Regions from separate parts of the Homo sapiens genome. Here regions 1 and 3 are each linked to region 2. Evidence: promoter capture Hi-C in 16 types of primary human blood cells and fetal thymus (Javierre and others, 2016). All regions are on one chromosome and are shown on one strand. Each heading gives the region's core, a stretch centred on a gene start or on the middle of the fragment in contact. The rest is flanking DNA. Distances are from core to core; before and after follow the strand shown.

Evidence for each region. The method cuts DNA at HindIII sites, captures the fragments that hold promoters and counts their contacts. A CHiCAGO score of 5 or more calls a contact.
Region 1: a fragment that was not itself captured here is called in contact with the fragment with the promoter of PLEKHB1 in region 2 in 2 of 17 cell types (M0 macrophages and monocytes); the score reaches 7.5 in M0 macrophages.
Region 3: a contact is called between a fragment that was not itself captured here and the fragment with the promoter of PLEKHB1 in region 2, in 1 of 17 cell types (endothelial precursors). The highest score is 5.3, in endothelial precursors.

The regions. Positions count from the first base shown.
Region 1 is chr11:73,395,738-73,399,901 of GRCh38, forward strand. RELT (RELT TNF receptor) reads left to right here. Exons shown (of 11, transcript NM_152222.2): 11 at 1-1,737. Among named protein-coding and RNA genes, the nearest start is that of RELT, 21 kb to the left of the region's middle. The HindIII fragment of the contact is 1,733 bases long and covers 1,646-3,378 here.
Region 2 is chr11:73,643,696-73,647,830 of GRCh38, forward strand. PLEKHB1 (pleckstrin homology domain containing B1) reads left to right here and starts at 2,886. Exons shown (of 8, transcript NM_021200.3): 1 at 2,886-2,931. The coding sequence starts at 2,914. RefSeq lists enhancers at 2,451-3,369, 4,005-4,135 and a silencer at 3,745-3,964. The HindIII fragment of the contact is 13,421 bases long and covers 1-4,135 here.
Region 3 is chr11:73,466,587-73,470,221 of GRCh38, forward strand. FAM168A (family with sequence similarity 168 member A) reads right to left here. Exons shown (of 8, transcript NM_015159.3): 2 at 1,819-1,906. The coding sequence starts at 1,888. Among named protein-coding and RNA genes, the nearest start is that of RELT, 92 kb to the left of the region's middle. The HindIII fragment of the contact is 826 bases long and covers 1,510-2,335 here.

The sequences.
Region 1 (4,164 bases), core at 1,262-3,761, 250 kb before region 2:
GGATGCCCCGACCCCCGTGCCTGCCCTGGCTGGATCCTAGGAGCCCACGGGATTCTCTGTATCATCAGAGGCTGGGCTTGGCAGAGGGGAGGGGCCTGTGCCCGTCACCCCTGGCCCCATTCCTTGGTAATTAGCCACACCCTTGCCTCTGTACAGGGCCCTAGAGCAGATGTGCGTCCCCCTCCTCTTCCAGCAGGTCTATAAAGGGAAGGGGTAGCAGAAAGTCCTGGGCTAGGAGAGTGAGTCCCTGGGTTCTAATCTTGGGCACATCTGTGGCCATCGCTGGGTCCATTTTTCTGACTGTGAAGTAAGGAGAGACGTCTCAGTACCCAGGGCCTCTTCAGCTCTTTGTAGGTTCTGGGCTGGGTTGTGGGGGACTGGGGAGCTGGGCTCTACCATCCCTCCCATTAGTAGCTTTATCCAGCCCCGTTTTTGCTGCTTCCAGGGCCTCTGCCTTCAAGGCCCCCATGGGGCTGTCCATCCATGGCTCTGCCTACGGAAGGGGCTTAATGCATGTGCCTGCCCCTCCCCCAGCTGTTTTTAATGAAACTGAAAAAATAGACTTGATCCCGGCAGGACTGTGATACAGAGCCCTAGCCTGCCCAGCCAGCCCCAAGATCTCAGGAGCTTTAGGGAGAAGACTTGGTGGGGCTGGAGCACACCTTGGGCCTCAGTGGTTTCTGTGTCCCTGTGGTGCCAGTGCTTCTGGGCAGTGCAGGCGGCTGCCAGGCCCAGCCCTGACTTCCACTCTGGCTCAGCAACCTGGTTATTTATGTGGGGCCGTGCAGGCATGGGCCCACTGCCTGTCCATCCTGTTTCTCTTATTTATTGAAACTCACCATTGCCCTATCCTTGTGTCTCCACCCCCTTCCATGTGTTGAATAATAAAAGGTGGGAAAGTGCTGTCACGAGGAGCTCCTTTTCTCTGTGCCCTTCCCAGCTTATCCGCCTGTTCCACTTGTACCTGTCCAGCCCTGCCCTGTGTTGGGCACCGTGACAGGCTGCCCTCCCCTCACAGTTCCTGCACCTCAGCAGCCAGGGAAGCAGGGCCCAGAGGAGACCCATCAACTCATCTGGTTCTCACCAAAGCCCCTAGCTAGAGGCAGGGCTGTCCCACAGAAATAGTGTGAGCCACATATGTGACTTTAAATTTTCTGACAGTCACATTTCAAAAAGTAAAAAGAAGCAGGTGAACTTAATTTTTTTTTAACCCAGTCTATCCAAAATATTTTCATTTCAATATAAAATCAGTATAAAAAGTGTGAATGAGCTGTTTTTGCTTTTGCTTTGAAATCTGGAGTGTATCTTACACATCTTGATTGGAACTCAAATATTTCAAGGGCTCCATAGCCACGTGGCCAGCAGCTACCACACTGGTCAGCGCAGCACCTGAGGAAATGCACTGTGTGGAGCCCGGGAGGTAATTGGGGGTGAGGAAGATGTGCGGGCCAGGGAATGTGTTCCACAGAGAGGGACAGCATGTGCAAAGGCTGAGCACCAACACATAGTGGTCACCTGGGCCTTATGCCCAGGGAGCCTCCAAAGCATTCAGCTCCTGCTTGGCCAGTGTGGAGAGGAAAGGAGCCACAGGAGCGGGTGCTACACCCGGCAAGACAGAGCGTCTCCATCTAAAATTCCTAGGGCAAGCTTCCAACCCGGCCCAAGGGCCGCATGTGGCCCAGGATATGGCTTTGAATGGGGCCTAACACAAATTCATAAACTTTCTTAAAACATTGAGATGTTTTTGCTTTTTTCTTTTCTTTTTAGTTCTTCAGCTATTGTTAGTGTTAATATGCGGCCCAAGAAAATTCTTCCAATGTGGCCCAGAGAAACCAAAAGATTGGACACCCCTGTGCTAGGGTTTGGTAATGGGAAATGGGTCGGGGGCTTAGGGCCAGCTGGGTGGGGCAACAGGAGCAGTCCTGGGGGCACCTGTGACACAGCCATGGAGGATGTCCCATGCCATCCAGATGTGAAGGCCCAGAGCTCTCAGGAGACAGACCTGGAGACAAGAAGACCTACAGGCACTCAGGTGGGTGTTTAGGCCAGGACTGGGCTGGGAGGAAATGTCCTGGGGACGATGCCTGGGCTGCTCCAGGGCACCACAGAGAAGGCACTGCTAGGGAGGCAGGAAAGAAACCAGGGAGGGCAACGTCCGTGGCAGTGTCCTGGCAGCCAGGGGAGGGGTGGGCGCAGGGTGGGCTGCAAGGCCAGGTGCTGCTGGGGGGTGAGGAGGACTGCTCTGTGCCCTGGTGAGTGGCACAGGAACTTGGTGGGATTCGCCTAAAGGGAGAGGGGAGACCAGGGCCAGGGCCAGGTGGATTGAGGGAGACAGCTCCCTGCCGAAGCCTGGCAGGCCATAGCTGGGTGGGGCCTCAGGCTCTGGGGAGAGACAATTTTCAGTTAATTTAGGGTTTTATTGTTTGTTATGTTGTCTAAAGACGGGAGAGAGGGACACATTTAAACTAACGGCCTCAGAGAGAGGCTGAAGAACAAGAGTGACACCTGATGGAACCTGGGGAGGTGTGGAGAGGACCAGCCTGTGGGAGTCCCCGGCCTGTCTGCAGCAGGCACAGGGCAGCTATGGGGCGGCCATGCTGGGGCTGTCGGGAGGCCTGGCTTCACAGGGGGCAGGGGCCTTTCTCCTGAGCAGAAGCCAAGCTGGGGGCCTCCTCCTACCCTGGGCAGATGTGCTTTGGGATTTGACTCTCCTTGGGTACCTAGGGCACAGGTGTCTCTCTCCAGGGCTTTTCAGGTGGGCAGGAAGGGGAGGGACACCTCTGAAGATCCAGGAGATGTTTCACCTGCACCAGAAGAGGGGAAGGAAACAGAGGCTGGACATCAGGAGGGATGTTCTGGAGCAGAAAAGGATGCCAAAGTGTAGGACAGGGTGTCCATTGTAGGGGACTAGCAGGCATCACCAGTGTACCCAAATAAGTATTTCCTGCGGCTGCCAGAGTGTGTTTGGAGTCCCTATTTGCCAGCTGCTCAGCTGCATCTCAGGGTCTGGCCTCTCCACCTTGACTGGCCCTCAGCCTCCTTCCCCAGGGGAAGGCTGGGCTGTGGGGTCTAGATGCCCTCTCCACAGCCTGCCTGTCTCGCCTGGGCAGAGGTACATACACATGCAAGCCAGGGTGCACCAAGGCTGGGTGCAGGCTTCCAGGCCAGGGCTGAGCGCCCCCTCACAGTAAGCACTGTGCTCTCCTCCAGACTCCCCCTCCCCAATTTCTGCTTGCTGAAAGGTGTGGCCCTGGCCTGTTTCTTCACCTGTCCCTTGGGGTATTGAGGCTAGCTTGCAAGAGTGGGATGAAGAGCTGAGGGCTCAAGTAGGAGTGTGTCTGATGCCCTTGGTCTTCAGGGTCCTTACCCTCACCTGGAAGCTTTTCTGGCTTGTTCCATCTAAATCCCTGAAGCTTTGTCAGCGCTTGAGTTCAAGAGGCCCACGCGGAGGTGGGAGCTGGAGGACAGGGTGGGGTTCTGGGCTGACCACTGAGGGGAAGAGTTCTGAGCTTGACCTCTGTGCTCCACCCCTCTTCCCTATGGGCCAGAATGGTAGGGGCTGGGACCCAAGTCTCCACCTCCCCTCCTGCTCCTGGCCCTCAGCTCTGCCACTGTGACCTGGAGCTGAGCCTCCCTCTGGGAGAAAATCCCTTCCTGCACCGGAGAAACTGACTATGGTGACTCAGCCCCAACAATGCCTGTGGCCAGAGGTGCCCCCTCGGACACTGGGGGTGGGTTTCATATTGGATCAAGGACAGGAAGGGAGGCTGGGTGGAGGCACACGGTGAGATTTGGTGAGAGGCATTAGAGAGTAAGGAGGCCTAAAAGTTTTCATTTCAGCTGCAGTGTGAGCCAAGCTACTTGGCCTCTTTTGGCCTGTTTCCTTTCCAGGTGAGGAGGCTGAGTTCTTGGAGGTATAGCTATGGGGATGTGGAGCATGAACTGTAGGGGCCCGGCCCTGGGAAGGAATGGTGGACAGATAACCCAGTAAGAGAAGCCTGGGCCTGGGCTAGGGCAGTGGCTTCACCCAGAGGGGAGATAAGAGATTCAGATGATGTTTAGGAGGCAAAACTGATAGCACTTGATGGGACTGCTTTGGATGAAGGCGCCAGAGCCTCCCTCAGCTGTCCTTTTTCTGTAACCACAAACCACCAAGTGCCCCTT
Region 2 (4,135 bases), core at 1,636-4,135:
AGTAACTGCTAAAGACTATAGGGTTTCTTTTCTTTTCTTTTTTTTTTTTTTTTTGAGATGGAGACTCGCTCTGTAGCCAGGCTGGAGTGCAATGGTGTGATCTCGGCTCACTGTAACCTCTGCTTCTCGGGTTCAAGTGATTCTCCTGCCTCAGCCTCCTGAGTAGCTGGGATTACAGGTGCGCGCCACCACGCCCAGCTAATTTTTGCATTTTTAGTAGAGACAGGGTCTCACCATGTTGGACAGGCTGGTCTCGAACTCCTGACCTCAGGTGATCCGCCACCCTTGGCCTCCCAAAGTGCTGGAATTACAGGCGTGAACTACCATGTCTGGCCTAGGGTTTCTTTTTAGGGTGATAAAAATGTTCTGAAGGCCAGGTGCGGTGGCTCACACCTGTAATCCCAGCACTTTGGGAGGCCGAGGCGGGCAGATCACGAGCTCAAGAGATCGAGACCATCCTGGCCAACATGGTGAAACTCCATCTCTAAAAATACAAAAATTAGCTGGGCATGGTGGTGCACGCTTGTAGTCCTAGCTACTCGGGAGGCTGAGGCAGGAGAATCACTTGAACCTGTGAGGCGGAGGTTGCAGTGAGCCGAGATCACACCACTGCACTCCAGCCTGGTGACAGGGCAAGACTCCATCAAAAAAAAAAAAAAAAATACCCACTGAATTTTTTACTTTAAAAGGGTGAATTTTATGGTAGGTGAATTACATCTCACTAAAATTATCACTTTGGCCGGGCGCAGTGGCTCACGCCTGTAATCCCGCTCTCAGGGAGGCAAGAGGCGGGAGGATAGCTTGAGCCCAGGAGTTCGAGACCTGCCTGGGCAATATGGCGAGACCCCGTTCTCCAGAAAAAGGAAAAAAAAAAAAAGACAAAAAAAAGCGTAAAATTATCACTTTAAAGTGTTTTCTTTTCTTTTTTTTTTTTTTTTTTTTTGAGACGGAGTTTAGCTCTTGTTGTCCAGGTTGGAGTGCAGTGGTGAAATCTCGGCTCACCACAATCTCTGCCTCCCGGTTCAAGCAATTCTCCCGCCTCAGCCTCCCTAGTAGCTGGGATTACAGGCATGTGCCACCACACCCAGCTAATTTTGTATTTTTAGTAGAGATGGGGTTTCTCCATATTGGTCAGGCTGGTCTCGAACTCCCGATCTCAGGTGATCTGCCCGCCTTGGCCTCCCAAAGTGCTGGGATTACAGGCATGAGCCACAGCGCCCGGCCATTTAAAATGTTTTCATAAGCACTTTTACTTTTGCTCAAATTGCATCTTGATATAAACTTCAAGTTTTTTAAAATAAAGATAATATAAATTATTCTCATTATATTATACTCTCTAGAAAATGTAAGTAGTAAATTTGAATTTGATGAGCCAGTCCACTATTTCCTAAACAATGTATTATCTGTGGGCTGTTCATTCACCAGGGACACTTGAAATGGCAAAATCTTTTCCTCTCTGCCAATGGTTCTGTGCACCATAGCCACAAAGAAATGTAAAAGTTACTTGTTGGCTTATTAGTCTCAATAAGTTTTAGTTGATTGAACAAACAAAGTCTCTCACAGCCAGGACTGCTGCGGCTGGAATTCCTGACATACTGTCATACCTCTCACTCGTCAATCTACACTCTCCTCCCATCTACACAGCTCTGGAAATTAAAAACAATCCAACCATGACTATCATGGCTTCAGAGGTCTATGAACTCCCAGGAATTATACGCAGATTTTTTCCTGAGGACAGTCTACACTTCCTTATTGGCTTCTCAAAGAGGGTCACTGACCAGCTTTTAGAGACATGGGCCAAGTCCGGCTACGTTTAGATTCGGTAGTAGTGTCTGTGGTTTTAGTTTGCCACGTCCTTTCCTCTTTTTTTCGTCATAGTGCCCGCTCTTTGGGAGGTAGGGGAGAGTCTTCCCCTGAAGTCTCCACTGCTGCTGGAGAACCTTCCTTTTTCATCTGGTTGCTAAATCCAGAGAATGAAATCTAGGAGATGATTGCACCGTCCCCGCCCCTCAACATGAAGGATGCCCCACTGCCCATCGGGGAGGGGAGCAGGGAGAGCTGGAGAGAGGCTGGGTCGGGGCAGGACCCAGGCGCAGATCCTCCGAGGCCAGCTGCAGCCCTACCTACCTGCCTTCCCGTCTTTCCCCTCCCTTCTTTTCTCCTTCTGTCTTTCCTTCCTTCCATATCTCTTTCCTTGCCTCTTTCCCCCTCCCACTGCTTCCTTTCTTCCTTCCACTGTGGAGGTGGAAAATTTAGCTAGGAGAAGCTGGGACTGGGACGTTCCAGGAACCAGACAGAGAGTGAGTTAAAGGCACAGAGATGAAAACGCGGTATGGGAGAGCTGGTTCTTGAGTCGGCTAAGAGGGGATGAACTCAATGGTTAATAGGATTGGCCATGGCGAATCCCTCAGCAGGGCACGCACCGCACAAAGGGCCGAGGAGCGAGGGTAGCTCGAGGTCAGGATTACAGAGACTCAGGAGCAAGAGAGGAAGGCTTAAAGAGCCAGACTGCGCAGCCAGGACTGGGGTGATGGGCGCTGTCCTGCCAGGCCAAAGAATGAAGATGTAGCCCCGCCCCCAACCTAGGGAGGAGGACCAGCCCGGTTCCTGTCCTGCCCCCGCAACCTCGCCCCGATTCCACTCCGGGAACCTCGGCGATGCTGAGCCAAGACCACTTCTGAATCAGGGATGACTTGTCTAGTGAACCTAGGGTCAGAGCCATCAGTTGGAAAGGCTGGGAGGAGCCTGGAGAAAGAGGGCGACCTTCCTTGGGATCTGTGCGCTCCCTCCTTGCCTCCCCCTCCAGCCTCCCACTTGGTAGCACCTTCCTGATCCCCTTATCTCTAAGGCGCTCAGGGAAATGCCCCGCTGCGGGAGCCTTCTGGGAAATGCTGCCCTGGCCACCCAGGAACCATGAGCCCTGCAGCCCCGGTAAGGAAGAGTTCTCTGGGACAGGAGGAAGGGCCCAGGGCAGGGTGGGCACCCTTGCCACATAGGGGACGGGACAGAAGTCTTTTAGGCCCTGACATCCTCTGGTCTCTGAATGACATCCTGTGGCTGCTGGTAGGTGAGGGTTTGCGGGGCTGAGCTATTGAAGGAAATGATCACAGTCCGAGGTGATAGATACAGAAAGTCTTCCTTTCTCCAGGTGGGCTCCCGCCAGTCCATTCTTCACTGTGCCCTAGAGGGGCCTTTCCGACCCCCTAATCACACACCTCACTCCTCATCTTGAAACTCCCACCCCCAGCTCCAGTCACTGCGTCCTAACATCCAAGCTCTCCGCCTGTCATGCAAGGCCTCTGTGCTATTTCTTTCCAAACCCTGCAGCTCTATCGCCTGACACTCCCGATGCCCTCCCCACCCCTGCGCTTTATGTTCTAGACACACGGAAATGCTGGGCACTCTTCAACATCCTGACAGTATTCATAGGGGAAATTTCGGGTCGCCTAGGAAACTGCCCCTCATCCTCCAAGGCCCCTTTCAGCCTCCTCTGGGAAGCCTTCCTGAACCCCTTGAGAAAAGTCAGGCTCATCTTTTCCATTGTTAAATCACACCTTGTGCTCCAATTGTGTGTTTCCATGTAATCTCCCTCACTAGACTGGAAGCTGGGGATGGAAAGGGGAAGCATCAAAAAAACATGCAAAACTAGGAGCTTGGCTTCTCCTTGCAACTTTACTTTTTCTTTTTTTCTAGGAACTGAGTTCAATGATTCTTAAGAAAAAGTATTTCATGATAAATGAGTGAACAAATGTCTTAATAGAAAAGTAAAATTGCAGGCGGGGCTGCTTCTGCCCAGCTCTACAGGGGTAGACTACAAGTCCCAGTACGCCTCGGGTCAGCATCTCTTCACGTCACTCCCCCTCCCTGGGGTGGGCAGGTCCGGAGGGCGGGGCCCGGGGGCAGCTGGGCTCTCAGGCGCTGCGGGAGGAGAGAAATGCCCCAGGCTCTCCGGGGCACACAAAGCGCAGGCGCAGCGGGTTGGGTGGCAGCAGCATCGAGTAGCGGCCGCTTAGGCAGCAACATCCGCAACAAGTGTAGACAAGGTGGGTGCATCAAGGGGAGGGGCTGGAAAAGGAGTCTGCACCTGACCCTCTTGTCTGATCTGTGTCAAGACCGTGGAGAGGGGAGGGAGCGG
Region 3 (3,635 bases), core at 673-3,172, 180 kb before region 2:
TTTGGCATTTGTTTATAAATTATCTTTACTTAGATCTTCCATCTCCAGTAATACAGAAGAAAAATAACCTGAAAATCTGCCTACTGCATAATACCTAGAAAAGCTGGTTATGAAGTATAACAAACATTGTATTACGTAGAGTTGAGATTTTAAGAAAGAAAAAGAAATCCCTATTACTCAAAAAATGAAGAGGAAACTAAAAATCAGGAAGTCTATGTAGTAAGCTGATATTGGGATGCTTTGGGGAGATTTTTTAGTCTAGGCACTCAAAGGGCTTGCTTTTTACAGCCACCAGGGGTAGGAGATAGGCTGTGGGCCCTGGAACAGCCAAGAGCTGCAACTCAAATTCCCCTACATAAAGTTGGGACCTTGGAGGAGTCATAGTGTCAGTTAAAAAAAGAAAAAAAAAATCCAAAAGTACAGAGATTCAACAGCCAAGGTTGGGTTAAAAAATAAAAGTCTCCCTACAAATTTGAAACTTTGGCCTGTATGAAGTCTGAATTTATACTACTTATGTGGAGTTTATACTATCTGTGTGGTCCTAGAATCTACAGCAGGGAATTAACTTAAAACAGTTCCAGGCTCATAATATTCCTTGGTGATTAATAGAGACAAAAAAAGATCCTCCTTTCCTCTAGAGGAGTACAAATTATCTTGTTTGATTCTCACAACTGTCCTATGAAATGGATAATATTTTGTCCCATTCCCAGAATTATCTAGTATGAAATAGATAATATTATCCCAGTTCATCACAGAAATTAAGTCTGGGGAGGTTAGGGCAAGTTGTCCAAAGTCACTCAGCTATTCTCTGACAGAGCTGGGATTTGAACCTGGTTGTTGTCCAGTCAGTCAAAACACATTACCGAGTCCTACTATGTGCCAAGCAGAGATAAAGTCTGTTCCCTTTCCAATTTTGGAAATTTGGAAAATTTGACAAAGTCAATTCCCCTTCCAGATTTACAATGTTTAAATCTTGATGCAAATCAATAGATAAATGCAACTGTTCTCTTCCTTCTCTAGTTTAGCAACTTAGTAAGAACGAAGGCAGCCAGGATCAAAGCAAATAGGAAACCAAAGCCCCACAGGGTTCCCTTGGGCTCCGTCTGCCAAAGCAGTTCAGTTCCCTCTGGCAGAGGAACTTAAGTTGCTGGAACACTCTGAACTGGAAAGGGGAAAAGCAACAAGCTCCATGAGCTAGTAGGGTATAGGGTACTGCCCCATGAGTCCTGGTTACTGGAAATTAATTTTGTTAGAATAAATATACAAATACAAATTCAAACAGAAAATATTTACTGTTAATTTAAGTAATAAGGACAATGAAACTGTTGTGATAAACACAAACATGGGAAATAGAAAGTTAGTGATAACAGTTACAGTTATATCAGGCTGAAACTCCAATATATTTCTGAATGTTAATTTGGTTGCATAGCATTGAGAAAATCCTGATTTAAAAACATAAGCAGATATAAATGGTAGCATTTTTTAAAAAAATTAACAGGCATTCTTAGAAGCTTAACACACTGATCATCTAACACGTATTCATGTTTTATAAAAATAGTTCTCAATATTTTAAAATAATCAAATCAAATGTTTGCAGACTCTCTAAAACACTCTCCTGGTATTATTGTAGAACAAAGTTGGGAAACAACCACACAACAGGTTCTCTGAGATCTTTCCGCTGGACCTCAGACATATCTTCTGCATGTTCCCAAACTTTCCCAAGACTTTTGGAGGTATACGTTAGGAGGAGGAGCAAGTTATTTGGTAATATCCTTAACCACCATTTCTCAAAATGAGAGCCATTCTCACACTACTCACCCGTGTAGGCCATGTTCTTAGGGTTGCCATAAGGAGCCCCAGGCTGCACGGGGCTGTAAACAGGGTTCATTGTGGAAGACTGAGGATCCTACAGAGAAAACAAAGAAAACAGCACTGATATTGATTGTTCATTCTTCCTGACATCAGCTTCTCCTCCATAATCTTCAGTTTTCCCTGAAAGGAAAGCATCAGGGTGTAGTGGAAAGAAGACTAAACAAAAAAGCCAATTTGCTTGTAGTTGGCCCTATGTTAAATACTTTCCCCATTTGACAGATGAAGATAGTAAGGAGCAAGGAAGTAATATAACTTGCCTAATGTCAACCTAGGCATTTTGGCTCTCAGCTCAGTGTTAGTCCCACTATCCCACAGACAGCTCTGGCACTAGAGTACTATGTGGCATTGGCCATGTCACTTCCCCTGTCTGGACTTCAATGTCCTGATATAAAATGAATTAGTTTAAGATCTCTGAGGTCCTTTCTAATTCCAATGTTGTTAGTCTAAGAGTTGGAAAAGGATAAGCTTTCTACGGTTCACTAGAGGAGCTTGGTGTCTGGTGACGAGCAAACAGACTGCTGGAAGGAAAAGCAGTGTCTCATCCGCCCCTTACACCTGCAGAGGACAAGATACCAGTTACCAGCAGCTTTAAAAACAGAAAAGGGAATTTGTTGCCACTGATAATTTTAATGCAAACAAGGAAATATGGCTAGGATTTCTCTCCAAATTTATTCAAGGGAAAGAAATAAACTTGGAAATTTGTGTGCAATAAGTATCACCTGCACAAGTGCTCTGTTAATTATCTTAATGAAGCACATTCTCCATTCTGATTAATGGAAAATCTGTCATTAAGCTCTATTAGCCAGCCAATTTGTCCCACCTTGTTTAGGGAGCCTTTCCTTACTATATAGCCTGACACATTTGAAAATGTGTCTCCAAATATATTATTTACACATCATAAAAATCAAACAATTCCTTCCTAACTAGGTTCACAAGATAGATGAGCAATTTTTTAGGTCATTAACTTCTCTTGTATCACTTCAAAATAGGAAACAAGTCAAATGTTGAAGGCAGGCAGTGAACAGCTGGCATGATGACAACTGCTCTGTGATTAGTCTGTCTAGGGTTCAAAAATGAGATGTGGAGAAAAGGTGGGCTAACAAGGAGAGGAAGCTGGGACCATCAGATAAGCAAAACGGAAAATGCCATTGGCCAATTTCAGAGGACAGAATGTCCTAAAACATACGTAATGTGTAGCCCTGGCAAACTACCCCAGGGCAACGAGCTAGATAAAATTACCATCAGCCAACAAACTGAAACTAGAACAACTTGAAGATGAAAGTTAAAGGAGTTATATATATATTTCAGTTAAACTTAAGGGAAAAAAATATTCTCACAGCCAGAGTTATCTAAAAATATACCCAAGTAACATACACTCTCTCTCTAAATAAAAGCACTCTCCTCGCAGAGTATTGAGACATTAATAATGAAAAGAGATCATAGATTTTTTGTTTTTGTTTTTGTTTTTTTTGAGACGGAGTCTCACTCTGTTGCCTAGCCTGGAGAGCAGTGGGGTGATCTTGGCTCACTGCAACCTCTGCCTCCTGGGTTCAAGCGATTCTCCAGCCTCAGCCTCCCGAGTAGCTGGGACTACAGGCACGTGCCACCATGCCTGGCTAATTTTTTGTATTTTTAGTAGACAGGGGTTTCACCGTGTTAGCCAGGATGGTCTCGAACTCCTGACCTCGTGATCCACCCACCTCAGCCTCCCAAAGTGCTGGGATTACAGTCGTGAGCCACCGCGCCTGGCCGATCATAGATGT